Regions from separate parts of the Homo sapiens genome. Here all the other regions are linked to region 1. The links are contacts of gene promoters, found by promoter capture Hi-C in blood cells and fetal thymus (Javierre and others, 2016). All regions are on one chromosome and are shown on one strand. Each heading gives the region's core, a stretch centred on a gene start or on the middle of the fragment in contact. The rest is flanking DNA. Distances are from core to core; before and after follow the strand shown.

Region 1 (2,687 bases), core at 118-2,617:
GAGATAAAGATCCCCCCATCTTGCTCTTTCCCCGGGACCCCAGCCTTGGTCGCGGCGCCCCACTAAGGAGGACACAGGCTCTGGTGTGTGTGGTGTGCGAGACCCCGAGCTCGAGGCCGAGCCAAGGCTGGGCAGAAAGTTGCAATCACGTGCTGTCGGAGCCCACTGGAGCGCACAGCCCGCTCCCCCTGGGACGCCCAGGCGGAGGACCTGCTGCGCCCTCCCAGGGCTCGGGGGACTCCAGCATTCACTTGCACGCACAGGCGAACTCTGATTGAAAGCCCGGGATGACACCGAGTCTGGAGAAAGAGGGACCGGGGGGTGGGCTGGCGGAATTGCAGAGCGCCGGCCACAGCTCCCCTCCCCGCGAACGTCGAGCGGAGGGCGGGAGGTGTAACCTCTGACCTCTGGCCGGGTCCACGCCCTGAGGAGGGACTGGCAAGCTCTTGTTCGACAAGTTCAAGCTGCCGAGAGAGCTTAAATAGAATTAATCTCTTAGAGATCGGGGATCATCGCTCCCTCGGCATGCGCTCTCCCAGCGCCGCGCACAGAGCAAGGCGCGAGAGAGCTCAGGAATCGCGGGAAGGCAAGCGGAATGGGGAGGGGGTAGGGGATGAGGGCCTCTCTTCACTATTCCTCCGCCCGGAGAGCGGGAGCCCGCAACGCCCGCCGAGGACGAGCGGCGGGAGGGAACGCTCTGCCCTCCAGCCGCCCCGGTGCAGATAATGGAGGCGACAAGAGATTCGCTCAGCGTCGGATGGGCCAGCTCTGCTTGGGGAAGCTGGCGGCATCCTCCCCTCGGCTGGTGCCCAAACCCACTGCGCGAAGGCCGAAGGAACGCGGAACCTCCAGAAGACCCCATCCTCAGCCCTGACTTTCCGTAGATATGTGCAAAATGAGTAAATTACTCACCTCGGGCCAGATCCAAGTTTTACCCAACAGAAGGGGCACCGGACCAAGAATGAACCAACTCACATGGCCATGTCCGGCGCGCACAATCACACGCCAGCACACAGCCACCCAATTTCTTCCGCGAATCTATCTGGCACTCTGGAGAGAGGGGGAAAAGCGTTTTGAGAAAGCCCCGTCACCCCTCCCCTTCCTTCTTGCCGTGAAATATACGAATTCATTTTTATTACGAGCCGCACCGTCCTCACCATCACGCACGCACAGAGCCACACTCCCATATTCACACTTTCTAACTCGTAAGCTCCGACAGCGCCTGCATTTTCTTTGGGAGCCGCTTGGAGGTTCATTAATATCATTAGCATTTAACCCCCTCCCTCTTCCCATCCCCTCCCCGCACATGGCTGACGTCAGACCCCGCCAGGAGTTGGGGGAAAAGCTAAGTGGGCCAGGGACGCCCTATTCCCCTCCCCGCGGCTGCCTGTCAGAGCGCTTCTGGAGATATTACAGGGGACCCAGCCCGCAGCGACAGGCACAAAGTCACGGGGTAATGAACTTCGGGGACCCTTCGCCGCTGCGTGCGCGGCTCTCCCCGGAAACCCGGACCTGGCCGCCTCTTCCCTCGGAAGATTTCCCAGCAATCTAGTTTTCCCACTCTGCGCTTGGGTTCCGGCAGCGCGGAGCCCGTCTGCCTCTGAGACTGCGGTAGTGTTTTCCTTCTTTCCTTGGGAGACCAGCGGTCGGCAGAGATTGCCCACACTCTGCATGCCTATGTAGAGGGAGAGATCGAAGACTGAGTGACAGGAATGGGGAAAAAGAGGGATTTCGCTCCGTAGGAAGGCCATTTTCGTGTCTCCATCTCTGTCTTTCAACATCCCTCTCTTGCTGTTCTTCCTTCTTCCTCAGTCTTCCTGTCCATCTCTCCATCTGTCTGTCCATGTGTGTGTCCATATCAAGCAGCATTCCCAGCAGCTGCGGTTTTGCAAGAGCCGGGAAGAAACTTAAGGATGCTTAAATTTCCACTGTTGGACGAATTCTGAGCGCCCAGGGAGCAGCGCAGCGCGCGACTGACACCCACCTGTCCCGCCCAGGAGCCTTGCAGGCTGGAGGGCAGCTGGAGAGCGGCGGCGCCCGGCGGCGAGGCGGGCGCTGCCGGCCGGGACTCGGGCAGCGCCCACCAACCGCTCCGCCCCGGGACAGCCAGCATGAGCAAGCCAGCCGGATCAACAAGTGGGTACCTCTCGGGCCGCCGTGGGGCCTAGGCGCGCAGCCTGGGGCGAGCGAGCGGGGAGGCTGGGGGAGGTCCTGCCTGGAGCGCTGCGAATCTGAGCCCCTGAGAGGGATTCCAGCGGGCGTGTGCGTTCGGCCCAGACCTGTAGACCGTGAGTTGGAGCATTTCGTGGAGAGGGGAGAGCCGTTTCGTTGCCTCTGGATTGCTTGATCCCCCCTGTCTGGTGCGGTGAGAAGGTTACGACCCGCGCAGCCCACCAGTCGGATGAGTTGTCTCCATTTAGCCGCCAGGTGCTGGATGGGGGGGCCATGGGGGCGGGAACTGGGCCGCAGCTCCAGGCGGTAGCACAATAACACACTCGCTCAAAACTCCGAGCTCCAGCGCGCAAAAGCAACTCTGTGCAAAGCGGATTTTGAATGGAATGCTTTGCACCCCGTTTCTAGCTATTTCAAATAATCCTGCAAACTGGGAAGCAGAAACAATTTAAAAGTCACATTTTCCTTAATCCTAAATCCGCGTAGGTCATAACTGGGGAATTTAAAGTATGGCG
Region 2 (2,687 bases), core at 123-2,622, 390 kb after region 1:
GGAGGGAGGAGGAGCCCAGCGGGGACAGCAGCGGGAGCCCGCCGAGTCCCGGCCCACGGCGCGCGCCCGGACACCCACGCCCGCAGCCCCGCGGAGCCGGGCCGCGCAGGCGCGCGCGAGCTCACACACGCGCACTCACACACGCACGCCCGCCGCGCGCCCGGCCCGCCGCCCAGCCCGCCGCCCAGCCCTCCCCCTGGGCGGGGACCCGCCCGCCGTCAGCCTAGGTTGAGGCGCCCTGCGTGTGTCTATAACTTTGTGCTGCTGCCGCGGCCGCCCTGCTCGTGGAAGGGAGGAGGAGGAATGTGGAAGGTGGCGGCGCGCGAGCTGACAGGCGGTTCCTCGGGCGGGCTGCGGCGACGGCCCGAGCGCTTCTCCTTCGCCGAGGTTGCGCGCCCCCTCCTCGCCGTGCCCCGGGCCCGCGCGGGATCGTGCGTCGTCCCGCCGCGTCCCTGAAGGGAAGGAAGCGAGGTAGGCGCCGGAGCCGTGCAGCGGGCGGCCGCCTTCCCGGTGACTCCGGATCTGCTTCCGAGCTGGGCCGGGCGCTTCCCTTTCCCCTCCCTGAGCCGCGGTGTGCGCGCCCCCCTTCTCGCCCGCTAGTGTTTTTAAAGGACTCGGGAAGGGGGAAACTGTCAAGATGGCAGCAGCGGGAGCAAGGAGGTGATGAACGTGCTGGTCCGGGTTTTCTAGCAGCCCGGGAGACTTGGCGCTTCCCGACCTGTTGGAAGATTTATGTTCCGACTCGCTCCCTCCCCCGGATCCCGACTGGGAAGGGGGCGGAGGGGACGACGTCCGCGAGAATGCAAACCACACAAAACCCCGAAGTGGCCGTCCCCGCCGGGCTCGAACCTCTGCGAACACCCGCTGGGCTGCTGCTCCCCCTTCTTTCTGTCTTTCCTTTATTTTTTGGAAGTGACAAGGGCCCATCTGCGCCCAGACCCCCGTTCGCCCTCTGGCCCGCGGGCGAAGAGGGGAGAGGGAGCTGCCCGCGCAGTCCCCGGGCTCGGGCCATTCGACCGGGTGGGGGGTGACGGGGGGTCGCGGAGGCGGCCAGGCTAGGAAAGGGGAGAAGAGCCGAAGACAGCACAGACTTGAGCGGCGGCGCCGCGGGAGGCACTAGAGCGGGCCCGAGCGAAACATAAACAAACGCACGCACACCCGAGCTCGGGCTCTGACCGCGGCTCGGCTGCGCCAGCTCCGGCCGCTGCCCGCTTTAAAGGCGCGGCCGCCCCTCCCCCGGGCGCCCCTCCCCCTTCTCCCCGCCCCGCCGCCTAGCCCGGGAGGGACCTGCGGCTGGGCGGCGGGGGGAGGGGGCTGCCCCGCGCGAGGCCGTCGATTCGCTCGCGGCTCCATCGCGGCCTGGCCGGGGGGCGGTGTCTGCTGCGCCAGGTTCGCTGGCCGCACGTCTTCAGGTCCTCCTGTTCCTGGGAGGCGGGCGCGGCAGGACTGGGAGGTGGCGGCAGCGGGCGAGGACTCGCCGAGGACGGGGCTCCGGCCCGGGATAACCAACTCTCCTTCTCTCTTCTTTGGTGCTTCCCCAGGCGGCGGCGGCGGCGCCCGGGAGCCGGAGCCTTCGCGGCGTCCACGTCCCTCCCCCGCTGCACCCCGCCCCGGCGCGAGAGGAGAGCGCGAGAGCCCCAGCCGCGGGCGGGCGGGCGGCGAAGATGGCAGAGGCACCGGCTTCCCCGGCCCCGCTCTCTCCGCTCGAAGTGGAGCTGGACCCGGAGTTCGAGCCCCAGAGCCGTCCGCGATCCTGTACGTGGCCCCTGCAAAGGCCGGAGCTCCAAGCGAGCCCTGCCAAGCCCTCGGGGGAGACGGCCGCCGACTCCATGATCCCCGAGGAGGAGGACGATGAAGACGACGAGGACGGCGGGGGACGGGCCGGCTCGGCCATGGCGATCGGCGGCGGCGGCGGGAGCGGCACGCTGGGCTCCGGGCTGCTCCTTGAGGACTCGGCCCGGGTGCTGGCACCCGGAGGGCAAGACCCCGGGTCTGGGCCAGCCACCGCGGCGGGCGGGCTGAGCGGGGGTACACAGGCGCTGCTGCAGCCTCAGCAACCGCTGCCACCGCCGCAGCCGGGGGCGGCTGGGGGCTCCGGGCAGCCGAGGAAATGTTCGTCGCGGCGGAACGCCTGGGGAAACCTGTCCTACGCGGACCTGATCACCCGCGCCATCGAGAGCTCCCCGGACAAACGGCTCACTCTGTCCCAGATCTACGAGTGGATGGTGCGTTGCGTGCCCTACTTCAAGGATAAGGGCGACAGCAACAGCTCTGCCGGCTGGAAGGTGCGTACCCACCCCGGGCTGGCAGCAGGACCCGCCGGGCCTCCTGCGCAGCGCGAGACGCGTCTCGGATTCGTCGGAGTGCGCTTGCGGGCTCCAGGGCAAGGGGTTGGCAGGGGGAGCCTCCGCTGCGAGGCTTTGGGGGTTATCTTTGATCCCCGGAGTCGGGGCACCTGGGGACGGTCTCGGAGGGGTGAATGAGGCTCCCCAGAAGCTTGGGGCATGGCCAGGTGAGGAGAGGGGGCAGGGGACGCCGGCGAGGGAAGGGCGAACGGACAGGAGTACATTTGCTGGATTCTCCGGACAGCACCGAGGAGGTAGGTCCGCAGCCAACTTTGGAGTAGAGTTTACCGTAGTGGGGGTCTGGTGCGGGCGCTGTGGCTGGAGTGAGAGGTGTGGGGGTGT
Region 3 (2,687 bases), core at 106-2,605, 370 kb after region 1:
CTGTGATCTCAGCTACTTGGGAGGCTGAGGCACTAGAATTGCTTGAACCCAGGAGGTGGAGGCTGCAGTGAGCCGAGATCATGTCACTGCACTGCAGTCTGGGTGATAGAGTGAGACTCTGGCCAAAAAAAAAAAAAAAAAAAAAGGTGTACAGATATTCACCATTCATTCATTCATTCATTCATCATTTACTTGCTGTCTACTCTGTGCCAGGAGCCGGGCACACTGAGAATAATGAGACAAACTCCCTCACCATGACAGACTTGTAATCTTTTAGGGACAACAGACAGACATAATGTGGTGTCAAGGAAGAGCCTTGCCCAGGTATCCTGGGAAGACCAGGGCACTCAAGTCAGCCAGGAAATGTAGTAAAAGGCATAGAAAGGACTGAGGGACAAACACTGTGCTGGGGAGGAGAGATGCAGAATAACAAAACCCATCCCTAGTCTCCAGGAGATGAAAAGAGTTGAGAGAGCACCAGTGCAGGGCCGAGTGTCATCCATACAACGAGAAATTACAAAGTGCTCTGGCAATTCAGAAGAGGGAGCTATAATGAATGTTATTCTTCTGAATGTTCAGAGAGAAATTAGACATAATTTGGTCCTTCAAGACATAACAATTCCCCTTTAGAACCCCAAATTCAGGGTGCACAGTGTAAAAACTGCTGCTATCATCAAAATGTGTCCCTCATTTTGCACTAATAACCTATCACATTTTAACCAAACTTTGAAAAGGCAGAATATTAAATTCAATTGCTAAAGAAGTATCAGTTGATTTCTATTGATTAGAGCAACATAGTTTGTAGAATTAAAAATAATTGCTTATGCTTTTGTGGTACTGACATAATTAGATTTAACAGCACAAAAATAATGCTCAAGCCATGACAAAGCAACTTTAAGTCTGGGGCAAAATAGACAGCTGATGTATGGATGAGCTAAACTCCCACCTTACCATCACCACTTTGTAGCCCATAGTTACATGTGGGGAATAAGGAAGAGAAGGGGCCAGGTGCAGTGGCTCATGCCTGTAATCCCAGCACTTGGGGAGGCCAAGGCGGGTGGATCACCTGAGCTCAAGAGTCCAGCCTGGGCTTCACGGTCAAACCCTGTCTCTACAAAAAATACAAAAATTAGCCGGGTGTGCTGGTGCACGCCTGTAATCCCAGCTACTCTGGAGGCTGAGGCAGGAGAATTGCTTGAGCCTGGGAGGTGGAAGTTGCAGTGAGCTGAGATGGCACCACTGCACTCCAGCCTGGGTGACAGAGCGAGACTCTTTATCAATGAAAGAAAGGGAGAGAGAGAGAGAGAGAGAGAGAGAGAGAGAGAGAGAGAGGAAGGAAGGGGAAGGGGAAGGGAGAAAGAAAAAGGGAGAGAGAGAGAGAGAGAGAGGAAGGAAGGGGAAGGGGAAGGGAGAAAGAGAAAAAGAAAGAAAAAGGAAAGGAAGGAAGGAAAAGAAAGAGGGAGGAAGGAAGGAAAAGAAAGGATGGAAGGAAAGAAAGAAGAAAGAAAAGAAAAGGAAAGAAAAGAAAAAAGATGAAGAAAGAAAAAAGAGAGAGAGAGAAAGAAAGAGGAAGGAAGAGAGGATTTGCTGTGGTGGTTGGGAGGGGACTCCTTCATGGAGATGGAGAAGGAGCAGGCAGAATATTGGCACTCAGAGCTCTTGTCATAGCATAAGTTAGAGGGCCCCACGGCAACCTGATGACAGCTAAAGGCAGGTCCCTCTTCTTGCTGTGACCCAGGGCACCGTCCTTATTCAGACTGAACTGAATCTGCAGCCTGTGTGTGCTCTCTAGACCCACCTTGACACTTGGTTTGGGGAAGGCTTTCTCCTCCAAGGCTCTGGTTTGTCCCCAGTTTGTGCCACTGAGTTTCAGTCCCCTTCAACTGTGCCTGAAGGCTAGAATTTATGCCCCAGGGGGCAGGGGCCAGGGAGGGTGTCCTCAGCCTGTTCTTTACTTGACAGCCTGCATCTGCCCCTATTTACATCCTCTGCAGTGCTGAACCTGCTTTCTGTGTTCATTCATTCTTTCCAAGCTCCACATGTGGCAGAAGGGTCTGGACTGGGATCAAGAGAGGCCGGCTAGGTTCTCAGCTCCATGATAGGCAAACCCCAGTTAGTATGGAGCTCGGCTTCCTCACTCACCCAGCTTCATTTGGATTCAGACCCGGGTTAAATACCTGCTGTGTGACCTGGTGTGTTAGCCAAAGTTGCTCAACCTTCATCTCCCCATTCGTAAAATGGGGGAAAGAATACCAACCTTGCAGGGTGCTGTGGGCATCAGAGATCATTACTCACAGTGCCCAGCACTGCGCAGACATTCATTAGCCAGCAATTGTTATCTACGATTGTCCTCAAACCCCCTTCCTATTCTGAGAGAGATGCTGGGTCACAGGCTCCCATTCTTCAGGCTGGCATTTCAGTTCCATCTGGAAGATGAGTAGAGGCAGCCCTGAGGAACCTGCTAGGGGCTCAGAGGCACAGATGATGGCCAGATGTCACTCCTCCACTCCTATTCTTGGACCCTGGCCTGGGGTAGCTTGGCCTTCACCTTCCGGCTTCTCTGCGCAGCACTCACGGCCCTTCATGTTTGCACGTGTGCCCTCTGCTCCCTCTGCCTACATGAAGCAGAATGGAGGGTGGACTTTAGGTCTTCCTCCCAGTGCAAACCTTCTCCTGTGAGACAGACT
Region 4 (2,687 bases), core at 95-2,594, 350 kb after region 1:
ACAGAAATAAAGGGTATTCAATTCGGAAAAGAGGAAGTCAAATTGTCCCTGTTTGCAGATGACATGATTGTATATCTAGAAAACCCCATCGTCTCAGCCCAAAATCTCCTTAAGCCGATAAGCAACTTCAGCAAAGTCTCAGGATACAAAATCAATGTGCAAAAATGACAAGCATTCTTATACACCAATAACAGAGAAACAGAGAGCCAAATCATGAGTGAACTCCCATTCACAATTGCTTCAAAGAGAAAAAAATACCTAGGAATCCAACTTACAAGGGATGTGAAGGACCTCTTCAAGGAGAGCTACAAACCACTGCTCAATGAAATAAAAGAGGATACAAACAAATGGAAGAACATTCCATGCTCATGGGTAGGAAGAATCAATATCGTGAAAATGGCCATACTGCCCAAGGTAATTTATAAATTCAATGCCATCCCCATCAAGCTACCAATGATTTTCTTCACAGAATTGGCAAAAACTACTTTAAAGTTCATATGGAACCAAAAAAGAGCCCGCATTGCCAAGACAATCCTAAGCCAAAAGAACAAAGCTGGAGGCATCACACTACCTGACTTCAAACTATACTACAAGGCTGCAGTAACCAAAACAGCATGTTACTGGTACCAAAACAGAGATATAGACCAATGGAACAGAACAGAGCCCTCAGAAGTAATGCCACATATCTACAACTATGTGATCTTTGACAAACCTGACAAAAACAAGAAATGGGGAAAGGATTCCCTATTTAATAAATGGTGCTGGGAAAACTGGCTAGCCATATGTAGAAAGCTGAAACTGTATCCTTTCCTTACACCTTATGCAAAAATTAATTCAAGATGGATTAAAGACTTAAATGTCAGACCTAAAACCATAAAAACCTTAGAAGAAAACCTAGGCAATACCATTCAGGACATAGGCATGGGCAAGGACTTCATGTCTAAAACACCAAAAGCAATGGCAACAAAAGCCAAAATTGACAAATGGGATCTAATTAAACTGAAGAGCTTCTGCCCAGCAAAAGAAACTACCATCAGAGTGAACAGGCAGCCTACAGAATGGGAGAAAAATTTTGCAATCTACTCATCTGACAAAGGGCTAATATCCAGAATCTACAATGAACTCAAACAAATTTACAAGAAAAAAAACAACAAACCCATCAAAAAGTGGGTGAAGGATATGAACAGACACTTCTCAAAAGAAGACATTTATTCAGCCAAAAGACACATGGAAAAATGCTCATCATCACTGGCCATCAGAGAAATGCAAATCAAAACCACAATGAGATACCATCTCACACCAGTTAGAATGGCAGTCATTAAAAAGTCAGGAAACAACAGGTGCTAGAGAGGATGTGGAGAAATAGGAACACTTTACACTGTTGGTGGGACTGTAAACTAGTTCAACCATTGTGGAAGTCAGTGTGGCAATTCCTCAGGGATCTAGAACTAGAAATACCATTTGACCCAGGCATCCCATTACTGGGTATACACCCAAAGGATGATAAATCATGCTGCTATAAAGACACATGCACACGTATGTTTATTGTGGCACTATTCACAATAGCAAAGACTTGGAACCAACCCAAATGTCCAACAATGATAGACTGGATTAAGAAAATGTGGCACATGTACACCATGGAATACTATGCAGCCATAAAAAATGAGTTCATGTCCTTTGTAGGGACATGGATGAAGCTGGAAACCATCATTCTCAGCAAACTATGGCAAGGACAAAAAACCAAACACCGCATGTTCTCACTCATAGGTGGAAATTGAACAATGAGAACACATGGACACATGAAGGGGAACTTCACACACCGGGGCTTGTTGTGGGGTGGGGGGAGGGGGGAGGGATAGCATTAGGAGATATACCTAATGTTAAATGATGAGTTAATGGGTGCAGCACACTAACATGGCACATGTATACATATGTAACAAACCTGCACGTTGTGCACATGTACCCTAAAACTTAAAGTATAATAATAAAAAAAAGAATATGTTTTGTATTTAAACTAGTGGATATAAAAAATATAAAAGCTGTTTCCAATATATGATCACATATGAACACTCATTCAAATACTTATGTAATCAAGAGATATTAATGTAAATCTTAGTCTTTTTGAAGAATGTCCTAGCAGGATGCTAAGATAATAAATGTAGGTTCTGGACACTCACTGGCCTAATTAGAATAGCAATGCACTGAACTTAGCAGTCTGCTGTGCAGCAAAAGCGTAACTAACCTCTTTACAGTGTCCCTGGGGAGCGTCTTAGGTGCACAGACCAGCTCCAAACAGCCAGGTATAAATGTCAACATCACAGTGTAATCATCTTAGTCAGTATGTGGTGCTATAACAAAATACCATGGTCTGGGTAATTTATAAATAATAGGAATTTATTTCTTCCAGTTCTGTGAGGTCTGAGATCAAGGAGCCAGCAGGTTTGGGTGTTTGGTGAGGGCTACTATCTGCTTTGTTGCCACCAGAGGGCACAAATGTTGTTCTCGCATGGTGGAAGGAATGGAAGGCAAAAAGTGGTGAACTCCCTCCATCAAATCCTGTATAAAGGCACCGAATCCCATGCATGAAGGCAGAGCCTCATGACTCAATCATATCCTAGAGGCCACACCTCTTAATCCTGTTGCATTGTGGAGTAAGTTTCAGCATGAATTTTGGATGGGACAAAAAC
Region 5 (2,687 bases), core at 130-2,629, 310 kb after region 1:
TAGGTTGTTTCTTCGCTCTGATGATAGTTTCTTTTGCTGTGCAGAAGCTCTTTAGTTTAATTAGATCCCATTTGTCAATTTTTGCCTTCATTGCAATTGCTTTTGGTGATTTCATCATAAAATCTTTGCCCATGCCTATGTCCTGAATGATATTGCCTAGATTTTCTTCTAGGGTTTTTATGGTTTTGGGTTTTACATTTAAGCCTTTAATCCATCTTGAGTTAATTTTTATATAAGGCATAAGGAAGGGGTCCAGTTTTGGTTTTCTGCATATGGCTAGCCAGTTTTCCCAGCACCATTTATTAAACAGGAAATCCTTTCCCCATTGCTTGTTTTTGTCAGGTTTCTTAAAGATCAGATGGTTGTAGATGTGTGGTCTTATTTCTGAGATCTCTGTTCTGTTCCATTGGTCTATGTGTCTGTATTGGTACCAGTACCAGGCTGTTTTGGTTACTGTAGCCTTGCAGTATAGTTTGAAGTTTGCTAGCGTGATGCCTCCAGCTTTGTTCTTTTTGCTTAAGATTGTCTTGGCTATATGGGCTCAAAAGTAGCTTACTTTTAAGCTCTTTTTTTTCTTTTTTTGCTTGTATACACCAAAGGTGGTGTTGGTTCCAAATGAATTCTCAAGAATAATGTCTAAACAGACATGTGCTTGGCATGACCATTGACATTTACATTGGTTTGTGTGATTTCTTTTTCCTTTAAGATTGTTTCTGTCTCTAAAATTACTTTCTATAGTGTCATTTCATTATTTTAATACCACTCTATTTGAATATGACACTAGACCTCATGGAAGTCAAATAGCATTTCTCCTGCAAAGTTGACCATTGCAAATGATGTTTTTAATGTCCTTTGAGGTGGAGTGGTTATTACTTGGAATGTGACAATTTCAAACTTTTCATAATAACTATATGCTTTGTTGCATTTTAAAGACATTTGCTCTAGAACAGTTGAAGAATTGGGTGCTTGTGTATTAAATGCCTACCACCTGATAATTATCTCAAGGGAGAATTTGTTTAGTTTAAGCTTAATCTAAATAAAAGATAACCTGTCACACTAATTTTCAATAAGACTTTAGTAAGATGGATGTCCAGAATTTAGTTTAATTGCTTCCACTACTACGTAAGAGTGATCTGTGTGTCAAAATTAAGCATATTGGCAGGTCAACCTGTAAAAGTTTGTATGTGGAGTTGAAGTAAACTTACATTTTTACTTGAAGCTCTTTTTAACAGTTTATTTCTTCTGCCAGTTATTTTATTGACTGTTAATTTACCACCCCTCTTAAAAAAAAAAGGCGAGAGGAAAAAGGCCATAGCATCATCTCATTTATATATGAGTTCCCTAAACCATATGGTGATTTCTAATTAGAATACAAAAGATTCTGTGATGAGACTAACTTCATAGTAGCTGTAACAGTGGGCATCACAGAAGGAGAGAGTTTTCTTCAATTTCCAACAAGGAGACTTTTGAGAGAAACTGTGTGGTCTATAATTGTCCTTATACTAGAAGTCTGACAAAGTTATTGATGTGCAGATCAAGTTGGCATTTCGAAGGTAGTAATTTAATTCTGGAGGTTTGATCCTCTCAGTCAGTGGCTTGACTTGATTTTTTTAAAATGCAGCTTCAATATTTAATTTCACATGTACCCTCTCAGTAGAGATTTCAAAGGATACTTTGCTGGATGCTTGACTGCCTTGTCTATTTGCTCTTGTTTTGCATGCAAGAGAGAGCCAGAAGCTTTCTTCTCATTGTGTACACATGGTATTAATGGATTTACTCTGCCTGTATCGTCTCATTACTGGAAACAGCTAGAAGCACAGAAGTCTTTCAGTGTATGCAAATAAGGCAGAATCATCTACCTGAGAGTTAATATTCTCTGCTTTTAAGTGTATTCTAAATCTAATGTTTGTATTTAGAGCATAACATCCTGTTCTTTTTTTTTATGGGCAAAAAGCTAAGCAGTCTCAGGCAGCTGTTTGATGTTGGCTTCAAGTGTTATTAATTTCATATTCTATTATTCTTTTCACTGTAGCACAAGTGAAGCTGATGTGGAGGCTGTCATGGATAAGTTGTTTGATGAGCTGGCTCAGAAACAAAATGATTGTACGTAAGTTAATTTCTCTTGAAAGAGAATACATTTAGAACACAATGCCCAATCTCCACTGACCAATTAATAAGTTCCATTGCTGTATATGGGTTGATGCCACGCTCAAGTGGCAGTCATTGTATCAGCATTTTGTCTAATTTATGTGTTGAATCATGTGCTATTATTCATCAAGCTATGCATTTCCTATCTGTAAGAGATGAATTTTATAGTAATTATCCAGACAAGATTGAGTCTTTGTTCATGTTCCCATAGTAACTAGACCAAGGATTCTAAAAGTGCAAGGCAGAGAGCTGCGCCTGAATAAAGCCTGTGGAACCGTTGCCGACTGCACATTTGAAGAGCTGTGTGAGAGAGTAAGTATCCAGGCACGTCCAGACTCACTGGCCTTTTCACATGTTAAAATACTTCGTGTTTTCCTCTCTGCCCATTTCAGATTTTAAAATACCATTCACAGAGTCAGAATCGATTTAAAAGTCTCATTAAGGGAAATACTCATCTATTTTTGCCATGTGCTTTTTATAGATATTGGCACAAAATTTGCACTTAGAGGGGCTCTAATGCAAAATTAGAAATGCAGAGA

What was found. The method cuts DNA at HindIII sites, captures the fragments that hold promoters and counts their contacts. A CHiCAGO score of 5 or more calls a contact.
Region 2: a contact is called between the fragment with the promoter of FOXO3 here and the fragment with the promoter of NR2E1 in region 1, in 3 of 17 cell types (naive B cells, total B cells and megakaryocytes). The highest score is 11.0, in naive B cells.
Region 3: a contact is called between a fragment that was not itself captured here and the fragment with the promoter of NR2E1 in region 1, in 1 of 17 cell types (megakaryocytes). The highest score is 8.5, in megakaryocytes.
Region 4: a contact is called between a fragment that was not itself captured here and the fragment with the promoter of NR2E1 in region 1, in 2 of 17 cell types (megakaryocytes and endothelial precursors). The highest score is 9.0, in megakaryocytes.
Region 5: a fragment that was not itself captured here is called in contact with the fragment with the promoter of NR2E1 in region 1 in 3 of 17 cell types (megakaryocytes, endothelial precursors and M1 macrophages); the score reaches 8.8 in megakaryocytes.

What each region holds. Positions count from the first base shown.
Region 1 is chr6:108,164,655-108,167,341 of GRCh38, forward strand. It overlaps NR2E1 (nuclear receptor subfamily 2 group E member 1), which reads left to right and starts at 1,368. Exons shown (of 9, transcript NM_003269.5): 1 at 1,368-2,136. The coding sequence starts at 2,112. RefSeq lists enhancers at 411-1,312, 2,213-2,687. The HindIII fragment of the contact is 9,879 bases long and covers 1-2,687 here.
Region 2 is chr6:108,559,545-108,562,231 of GRCh38, forward strand. FOXO3 (forkhead box O3) reads left to right here and starts at 1,373. Exons shown (of 3, transcript NM_001455.4): 1 at 1,373-2,285. The coding sequence starts at 1,665. RefSeq lists silencers at 1-97, 138-207, 1,187-1,406 and an enhancer at 1,850-2,350. The HindIII fragment of the contact is 5,662 bases long and covers 1-2,494 here.
Region 3 is chr6:108,532,674-108,535,360 of GRCh38, forward strand. No RefSeq gene overlaps it. Among named protein-coding and RNA genes, the nearest start is that of FOXO3, 27 kb to the right of the region's middle. The HindIII fragment of the contact is 8,447 bases long and covers 1-2,687 here.
Region 4 is chr6:108,516,668-108,519,354 of GRCh38, forward strand. The region is part of intron 11 of AFG1L (AFG1 like ATPase); the gene reads left to right. Among named protein-coding and RNA genes, the nearest start is that of FOXO3, 43 kb to the right of the region's middle. The HindIII fragment of the contact is 3,442 bases long and covers 1-2,687 here.
Region 5 is chr6:108,474,833-108,477,519 of GRCh38, forward strand. AFG1L (AFG1 like ATPase) reads left to right here. Exons shown (of 13, transcript NM_145315.5): 9 at 2,033-2,103; 10 at 2,360-2,460. The region is part of intron 2 of LOC124901370 (a long non-coding RNA gene); the gene reads right to left. Among named protein-coding and RNA genes, the nearest start is that of FOXO3, 85 kb to the right of the region's middle. The HindIII fragment of the contact is 711 bases long and covers 1,025-1,735 here.